2 separate regions of the Homo sapiens genome follow, and region 1 is linked to region 2. The links are contacts of gene promoters, found by promoter capture Hi-C in blood cells and fetal thymus (Javierre and others, 2016). All regions are on one chromosome and are shown on one strand. The core of a region is centred on a gene start or on the middle of the fragment in contact, and the rest is flanking DNA. Distances in the headings are between cores, read along the strand shown. Region 1 holds the start of FUT4 (fucosyltransferase 4). Region 2 holds the start of CEP295 (centrosomal protein 295).

Evidence for each region. Contacts are between HindIII fragments. The CHiCAGO score rates a contact against its expected background, and 5 or more counts as called.
Region 1: a contact is called between the fragment with the promoter of FUT4 here and the fragment with the promoter of CEP295 in region 2, in 1 of 17 cell types (total CD4 T cells). The highest score is 5.4, in total CD4 T cells.

What each region holds. Positions count from the first base shown.
Region 1 is chr11:94,541,535-94,545,441 of GRCh38, forward strand. FUT4 (fucosyltransferase 4) reads left to right here and starts at 2,387. Exons shown (of 1, transcript NM_002033.4): 1 at 2,387-3,907. The coding sequence starts at 2,600. It overlaps PIWIL4-AS1 (PIWIL4 antisense RNA 1), which reads right to left. Exons shown (of 5, transcript NR_135093.1): 5 at 3,798-3,907. RefSeq lists a silencer at 2,575-3,144. The HindIII fragment of the contact is 5,462 bases long and covers 1,070-3,907 here.
Region 2 is chr11:93,659,149-93,663,122 of GRCh38, forward strand. It overlaps CEP295 (centrosomal protein 295), which reads left to right and starts at 2,534. Exons shown (of 30, transcript NM_033395.2): 1 at 2,534-2,626. RefSeq lists a silencer at 2,298-2,367 and an enhancer at 2,528-2,657. The HindIII fragment of the contact is 3,556 bases long and covers 1,252-3,974 here.

The sequences.
Region 1 (3,907 bases), core at 1,137-3,636, 880 kb after region 2:
CGCCTACTGCCCCAGTCTTCCCTCCCTGGCCTCTGCAGTGCTGCTCCCTCTGTGGCAACTAACACCTCAGCCCTCTTCCTCTGCATTGTAATGATTCCTAATTATTCCAGGAGCCACCTCCTCAAAGCCTTCCATGATCCCTTCCCTCCCCACTATCTGTTTCTCTCGTAGATTTTTGAAGGTAGAAACCGTGTTTTGCATTTGTTTCCCAATTTGTTAAATGAACAAGTGAGTAAATTTATTAATTTCCCATAACTCCTTTCCTCCCTTTCCTTCTCCTCTACCCTACCAATGGCTCTTTTAAAATAAGAACAATCCAGTCCCCTGTGAATGTTTGTGCATGTATGAGATGCACAATGATCACGTATGACCTTCAACCAGCAATTTGCGAAGTCACGACTGGTTTCCATTCATCCAGACACACCTTACTACCTAGTATCCCCTCCTCCCACATCAAATAAGGGTATAGTAGGGGCAGTTTGTGGTCTCAACCCTACCGAGGTAAGAGGGCACAAAGAAAATTGATATGCATGAGACCTCGGGCATTCTTCAGGTAAAAAGATGGCTTAATTGGAACATTCGGAGGCTTAAGAGAAAATCGGGAGTGGTGGAAGGAAGCAATCAAGCAGGGTAATATTTCCCAAATGCCTACCGGCCACGTGCCAGACACAATGTTAGGCTCTATCTGTGATGTCTTATTTAACTGAAGAGGGAGAAGAATGTGAATAAATGGCTGGATTCTTGAATTGCATAAAAAGAGAAGCCAATACACTTTTTCCTTTATTTCGTTTAAACAAGTAATTTGTGCATTTATAGCTTTTTCTTTTAATTAAAAGTAAGAGTGGAAAAAAGTCACTGAAATGTCTAATTTCAAATAAAATATTTGATTTCTAATTTCTGTTTTTCAAACAAACAAAAAACCCCAGAAGCATTATGAAAGGTTTTACTGTGCAGGAGGAAATGTTACTAGGTTGATGGGCCTAGCCAGAACACCTAACATCCTCCATCTAGTCTCCAAACTGAGGCTGTGGCCCTGCAGAGAGCGCCACCCGGAAGCCACTTTTATAGAAGCTTTTACACACAATGCTTGATTTTTTTTTTTTTTTTTCCGAGACGGAGTCTCGCTTTGTCGCCCAGGCTGGAGTGCAGTGGCGCGATCTGGGCTCACTGCAAGCTCCGCCTCCTGGGTTGACGCCATTCTCCTGCCTCAGCTTCCCGAGTAGCTGGGACTACAGGCGCCCGCCACCAAGCCTGGCTAATTTTTTTTTATTTTTAGTGGAGACAGAGTTTCACCGTGTTAGCCAGGATGGTCTCGATCTCCTGACCTCGGGATCCGCCCGCCTCGGCCTCCCAAAGTGCTGGGAGTATAGGCGTGAGCCACCGCGCCTGGCCTATACTTGATTTTTAATGAAAACATTCTTAAATTCATATGGCTAACGCAAATTTATTTTCTGTAGGCATAACATCAAAAACACCTGGCAGGATTGCCCCATTCCCAGCACTGTCTATTTCTCCCCTAGTATCAGTGGGACTCCACTGATGCACAGCTGTGATCTACTAAAACTTCTCTCAAAACTTTCTCCTCTCCTTAGGTCAGCAGCCCCGCCCCTGATCTATTTGGAAATCCCCTGAATAAAAGTTGAATATCATAAACCAAAGCGAACACCCAGAAATTCAAATTCAACCCGTAGGTAAAAAATTTCTCAAGTGACTGTAGACGTAGATGTCTCCAGTGTCGCCTAATAAGGTAGAAGAGGCCAGTGCGATACTGTCTTTACACCCTTAACTTGGGTGCTAGAATATTTATCTTCGTCATCATTTTATCATCCAAACTATTTTGCATAACTTTCATGGGTGCAGAAAATGTTTTTTAAGTGCTTGGTAAAATTAATAGTGATATTCATTCATTCATCTCACTGAACAGGCAATAAATTCCTTGACGACAAGGGCCTTGGGGGGGTCACATCTTCATCTTTGGTTTATGAGTCCTGTGCGTCTTGGTACAAGCAATACTACTATGAGCCGGCAAGTCAGACTTATTTGGTAGGGGACCAAAGGAAAGAACATGTTTTGATTGCTAAGAAAACATTTTGTTCTCTATCCTTTACTGGGCTGGCAGGCAAAGGAAATGTTCTTATGAGCACTCACATTGAAAACTTAAGTTCTTCACCAAATGCAGAGACTCTGAAGGCCACGCCGCTGCGGGCTGCCTCCACAATTCGACCGTCTCGGCGGGCCACGAGATCCTGGCCACGGATGCGGTGGCCGCGCCTCTGCTCGCACGTTCCCCCGGCCTCTGGACTCCCTCCCTCCCTCAATCCCTCCCTCCGGCGGGCGTCGCTGGCGGGTGGCTAGGCCCAACGGCAGGAAGCCGACGCTATCCTCCGTTCCGCGGCGCCGGGTCCGCCTTCCGTCTGTTCTAGGGCCTGCTCCTGCGCGGCAGCTGCTTTAGAAGGTCTCGAGCCTCCTGTACCTTCCCAGGGATGAACCGGGCCTTCCCTCTGGAAGGCGAGGGTTCGGGCCACAGTGAGCGAGGGCCAGGGCGGTGGGCGCGCGCAGAGGGAAACCGGATCAGTTGAGAGAGAATCAAGAGTAGCGGATGAGGCGCTTGTGGGGCGCGGCCCGGAAGCCCTCGGGCGCGGGCTGGGAGAAGGAGTGGGCGGAGGCGCCGCAGGAGGCTCCCGGGGCCTGGTCGGGCCGGCTGGGCCCCGGGCGCAGTGGAAGAAAGGGACGGGCGGTGCCCGGTTGGGCGTCCTGGCCAGCTCACCTTGCCCTGGCGGCTCGCCCCGCCCGGCACTTGGGAGGAGCAGGGCAGGGCCCGCGGCCTTTGCATTCTGGGACCGCCCCCTTCCATTCCCGGGCCAGCGGCGAGCGGCAGCGACGGCTGGAGCCGCAGCTACAGCATGAGAGCCGGTGCCGCTCCTCCACGCCTGCGGACGCGTGGCGAGCGGAGGCAGCGCTGCCTGTTCGCGCCATGGGGGCACCGTGGGGCTCGCCGACGGCGGCGGCGGGCGGGCGGCGCGGGTGGCGCCGAGGCCGGGGGCTGCCATGGACCGTCTGTGTGCTGGCGGCCGCCGGCTTGACGTGTACGGCGCTGATCACCTACGCTTGCTGGGGGCAGCTGCCGCCGCTGCCCTGGGCGTCGCCAACCCCGTCGCGACCGGTGGGCGTGCTGCTGTGGTGGGAGCCCTTCGGGGGGCGCGATAGCGCCCCGAGGCCGCCCCCTGACTGCCGGCTGCGCTTCAACATCAGCGGCTGCCGCCTGCTCACCGACCGCGCGTCCTACGGAGAGGCTCAGGCCGTGCTTTTCCACCACCGCGACCTCGTGAAGGGGCCCCCCGACTGGCCCCCGCCCTGGGGCATCCAGGCGCACACTGCCGAGGAGGTGGATCTGCGCGTGTTGGACTACGAGGAGGCAGCGGCGGCGGCAGAAGCCCTGGCGACCTCCAGCCCCAGGCCCCCGGGCCAGCGCTGGGTTTGGATGAACTTCGAGTCGCCCTCGCACTCCCCGGGGCTGCGAAGCCTGGCAAGTAACCTCTTCAACTGGACGCTCTCCTACCGGGCGGACTCGGACGTCTTTGTGCCTTATGGCTACCTCTACCCCAGAAGCCACCCCGGCGACCCGCCCTCAGGCCTGGCCCCGCCACTGTCCAGGAAACAGGGGCTGGTGGCATGGGTGGTGAGCCACTGGGACGAGCGCCAGGCCCGGGTCCGCTACTACCACCAACTGAGCCAACATGTGACCGTGGACGTGTTCGGCCGGGGCGGGCCGGGGCAGCCGGTGCCCGAAATTGGGCTCCTGCACACAGTGGCCCGCTACAAGTTCTACCTGGCTTTCGAGAACTCGCAGCACCTGGATTATATCACCGAGAAGCTCTGGCGCAACGCGTTGCTCGCTGGGGCGGTG
Region 2 (3,974 bases), core at 1,284-3,783:
AGCTGCCAGCCAACGTCAGCTGCCAGCCATAGTAAGTGACCCATGTTGGACATTCCAGGGTGGTTCGGTTGGCAGCAATTGATCGCCAAAACAGAAATGAAGACTCATTGATTTGAGGTCCCACGGCTAGAAAGTATCTGTGGTAATGCTAAGCCAGATGCTCTGACTCTAAGCCCACTTGGGCTTTGATTCCTCACTGCCTTCTATTAAAAACAGAACAAGTCTCGATTCAAAATCTCCAAGTGTAGAATTTCTGCCAAGGATGCAGGTTGAGGAAGTGAAGCATGTAATTTGGTCATTTATTCAGCTTTGTTCATTTATGCCAGGCAACTGAACAAAGTGCACTCCTGGTTCTCAAGAAACTTAGAGTGTAATCAATAGAGAGCCCTCTAAACAGCTCATTTCAATAAGAACTCCTAAGTGCCATGGGGCAGCATGTGCAGGAACCCATGTCCAGGCACTAAACCTAGCCCAAGGGATGAAATAATATGCACATGTTTTATCGGGTATGGAAGAGTATCTCCGTGCCTGTATGGAGGATGCTGAAAAAATGTTTAAAATGAATACAAATATTCTTCAAGATAAATGTGACAGGAAATGGGGAGAGAGGCTGAGAAGAACCCTAATATTTGGGAAGGAAACGTGAATTCTAGTCCTGGTTCACCCTTGACTGAAATGTGCCCTTGGCCAAGTTGCTGAATCTCTCTGTAACTCAGTATCCTGATCTGTAAATCTGAGGTGGAATCACACTATTTCTTCCTGTACCTTCCTTCCTCCTACTCCATCCCTTTAAGTTTTGGTGTTCCTCGGAGTTTGGTTCTTTGCTCATTGCTCTTCTCACTCTGCAAATTCTCCCTAAGTGATCTCATCCATTCCGCTAGCGTTTGTTATTACTCATGTAACAAGGAAATCCCTTTATGCTTAGCCTAGTTCTTTCTGTGGGCTATCTACCGATGTATTCATCTGCTTACAGTACATCACTGGATGTTCTACAGGCACATGAAGTTCAATATACACAGAGCTTGGCTCATCACCCTACCCACTTAACTGCCATTTCTGATTTCTCCCTTTACAATCAAGAATCAACACTGCTACCCAAGCTAGTGGCCTATGAAATCAACTTCACTTTCCCTTTTCTCTCAATCTCACATGCAATTGTTTGTCAAGTACTGCTAATTTTGTGTCCTAAGTTTCTGAAATGCATCCCTTTGTCTAGATATCTCATAAACAGCTCAAATTCAAAATATTCAAAGCTTAACTTATTACTTCTCCCTCCTGGTTCTCTTCATGTGTGTTCCAGGAGGATGTTATCACTATCTACCCAGGTGCTAGGTATCTGGGACTTGGGCATCACCCTTGTTTTCTCCTCTTGTGCCTCCCATAACCAGGTAACCACCAATTCCTGATGTTTGGCTTCCTATTCAATCTACTCACCTCTCTCCATTCTCATTGCTATTATCTTTCACTTTCTGTAGTAGTATACGGCCTTCTGTCTTCACTCTCTCTGACCTTTTCCCCACTGTGCAGCCAGATCTGATCGTGTCAGCAACTTCCCATCCCCACCCCCCATTTTTAATCCTTTGATTCCTGATGTTTAACCCCCATGACCCAGACTGCAAAATCTAGTATAGGCATCATAATCCATCCAGAGTAACATAATGTACTCGGCACATAACAGATACTCAATAGGTATTAACCTGTGCTCACCGCCTGATTATTGGTTATTTACAGCAGATAAATCCGTGAGGTGCTCTCCGTGCGCTGTACCTCTGGAGGCACAGGGTAACATACGGCTCATTGTTGTTATGAGCTGGAGGCCTTAAATGAAAGCTATAAGACGTTAACTGCGCATAATAGTACCAATGAATTCCGTAGTCAGTACAGAAAAGGATGCATATCCCAAGATATCTTCATGATGGGGCCTTAAAACAAAAGTCACCCTCATGGCTCTGCACTTTTTTTTTTTTTTTTTAGACAGGCTTTGGCTCTGTCGCCCAGGCTGGAGTGCAGTACTGGCGGGATCTCGGCTCACTGCAACCTCCACCTCCTGGGTTCAAGCGATTCTCCTGCCTCAGCCTCCCGAGTAGCTGGGATTACAGGCGCCCACCACCACGCACGGCTAATTTTTGCTGTTGTCGTATTTTTTGTAAAGATGAGGTTTCACCATGTTTTTAAAAGGACTTGGTCTTGAACTCATAACCAAAAATACATAACCTCGAACTCTTGGGCTCAAGTGATCCTCCCGCCTTGGCCTCCCAAAGTGCTGGGATTACAGGCGCGAGCCACCGAGCGCGGCCCATACGGGAAAACGTCAAAGCCTGACAGGTGTGACAAATAATGGGCCCCTAGGCAGGCTGGGGCTGGCGCGTGCCTGTGCGCGTGCGCGGGGCGCGGGGTTTTTAACACCGCGCAGCCTTCCCGGCGGCCCCCGAGGAAGGCGGGACAGGGCCTATTCCCGCGGTTTGGTCCGGCCATTGGCGGGCGGTTTGAATGACGGAAGTGACGGCGGCTCGGCGATGGCTCTCCCGCAGGCGCAGAAACGGCTGCTGGGCAGCTGATGGGCAGGAGCTTACCAGGCTGGCTTGCTCTGAGCTGCGGTTACTGTGTCCAGGCCCCGGGTTCTCAGGTGAGTCAGGGATGCACTGGCTTCCCAGTCGCCCCGTAGGAGCATGACTCCCCGAGGCCCAAGAGCTGGGATTGTATTCCGGAGGAATGGGATCCCAGGAAGGCGCCTTGTTGCGAACGCAGGTACGGCTCGCGTTTCTCAGGCTCCGCAGGCCGTGGGCCCTGCCCGCGGTCGGGCTGGCGGCTGTAAGGAGTGTCCGGACCAGACCCGGTAACTCAGTGCGAGAGGCTTTGCGCGCTCTCCTGGGGTCGGGTCGCGCGAGCTTCCCACGCAGCCTCCCCTGTCGCGGAGCTTCCGTGTCGGGGGAGGGGCGCTTCCCCCAGATCACCCGCGGACATGGCCTGCCACCTGGTAGCTGTTAAAAGAGCCTTGCCTGGATCGTTTCATGCAAAGAGCACGCTCTCTTTTGGTGTCTGCCACCTTAATCTCACAGTTATTCAATCCTGTCACAAACTCAACTTTTAAAACAATGGTGAACTTTTGAGTCCTTAATACTTAGAGTGTATTTGAAGACTTCACGCTAAGTCACATAGACGTCAGAACAAACCTTTTGGGGTAGATATTATTATTCCCTTTATACAGTTTAAGAAAACGAAACCAAAGTGACTTCAGTGACTTGGCCAGTATCTTCCTGCTAATAAGTGGCAGTGTTGGGTCTTGAACCCAGATCTTCCAAGTTTAGTGTTAATTTTGTGATTACTATGTACCAGGAGCCATTTAATCCTCAGGACGAAATCTTGCAAGATAAGTAGTATAATCTTCAATATTGGATAGTAATAAAATGTAGAATTTAAAAATCCATATTACTAAGAATAAATAATTAATAAACAAGTAAATGGGGCAGCAGGGAAAACTTCCTTACAGCAGGATTCCGATTGATAATTGTAGAAGGAATAATGGAAATAGAAAATACTATTTGGTAAACACCACAGTAGTTGTTTCAGACAACAGTCATCAATGGATACTAACGTCAATGGGCAAAAGTATGATGAAAAGCATATTTCTGTAGCCTCTACTCTGTCTTCATGAGATATTTATAAAGGAAAAGTAGTAACTACAGAGGAGAAACCTGGTGGACATCATCTTAACCAAGTGACCAAAATTCAGCATCATTTACCTCTTGATAACAATGCACTGAAAAGGTGCCTAATCAATTCTGTGGTGTTCTTGCCAAAAATACATAACCTCAGTTTAATCACATAAGATTAGACAAATCTAAATGGAGGGACATTCAACAAAGTACTTGGCCAGTATTTTCAAAAATGACAGGGTCTTGAAAAGACAGACTGAGAAACTGTCCCAGATTAAGGGGGACATGACAACTTTGACATGAGAATGTAACTCACAT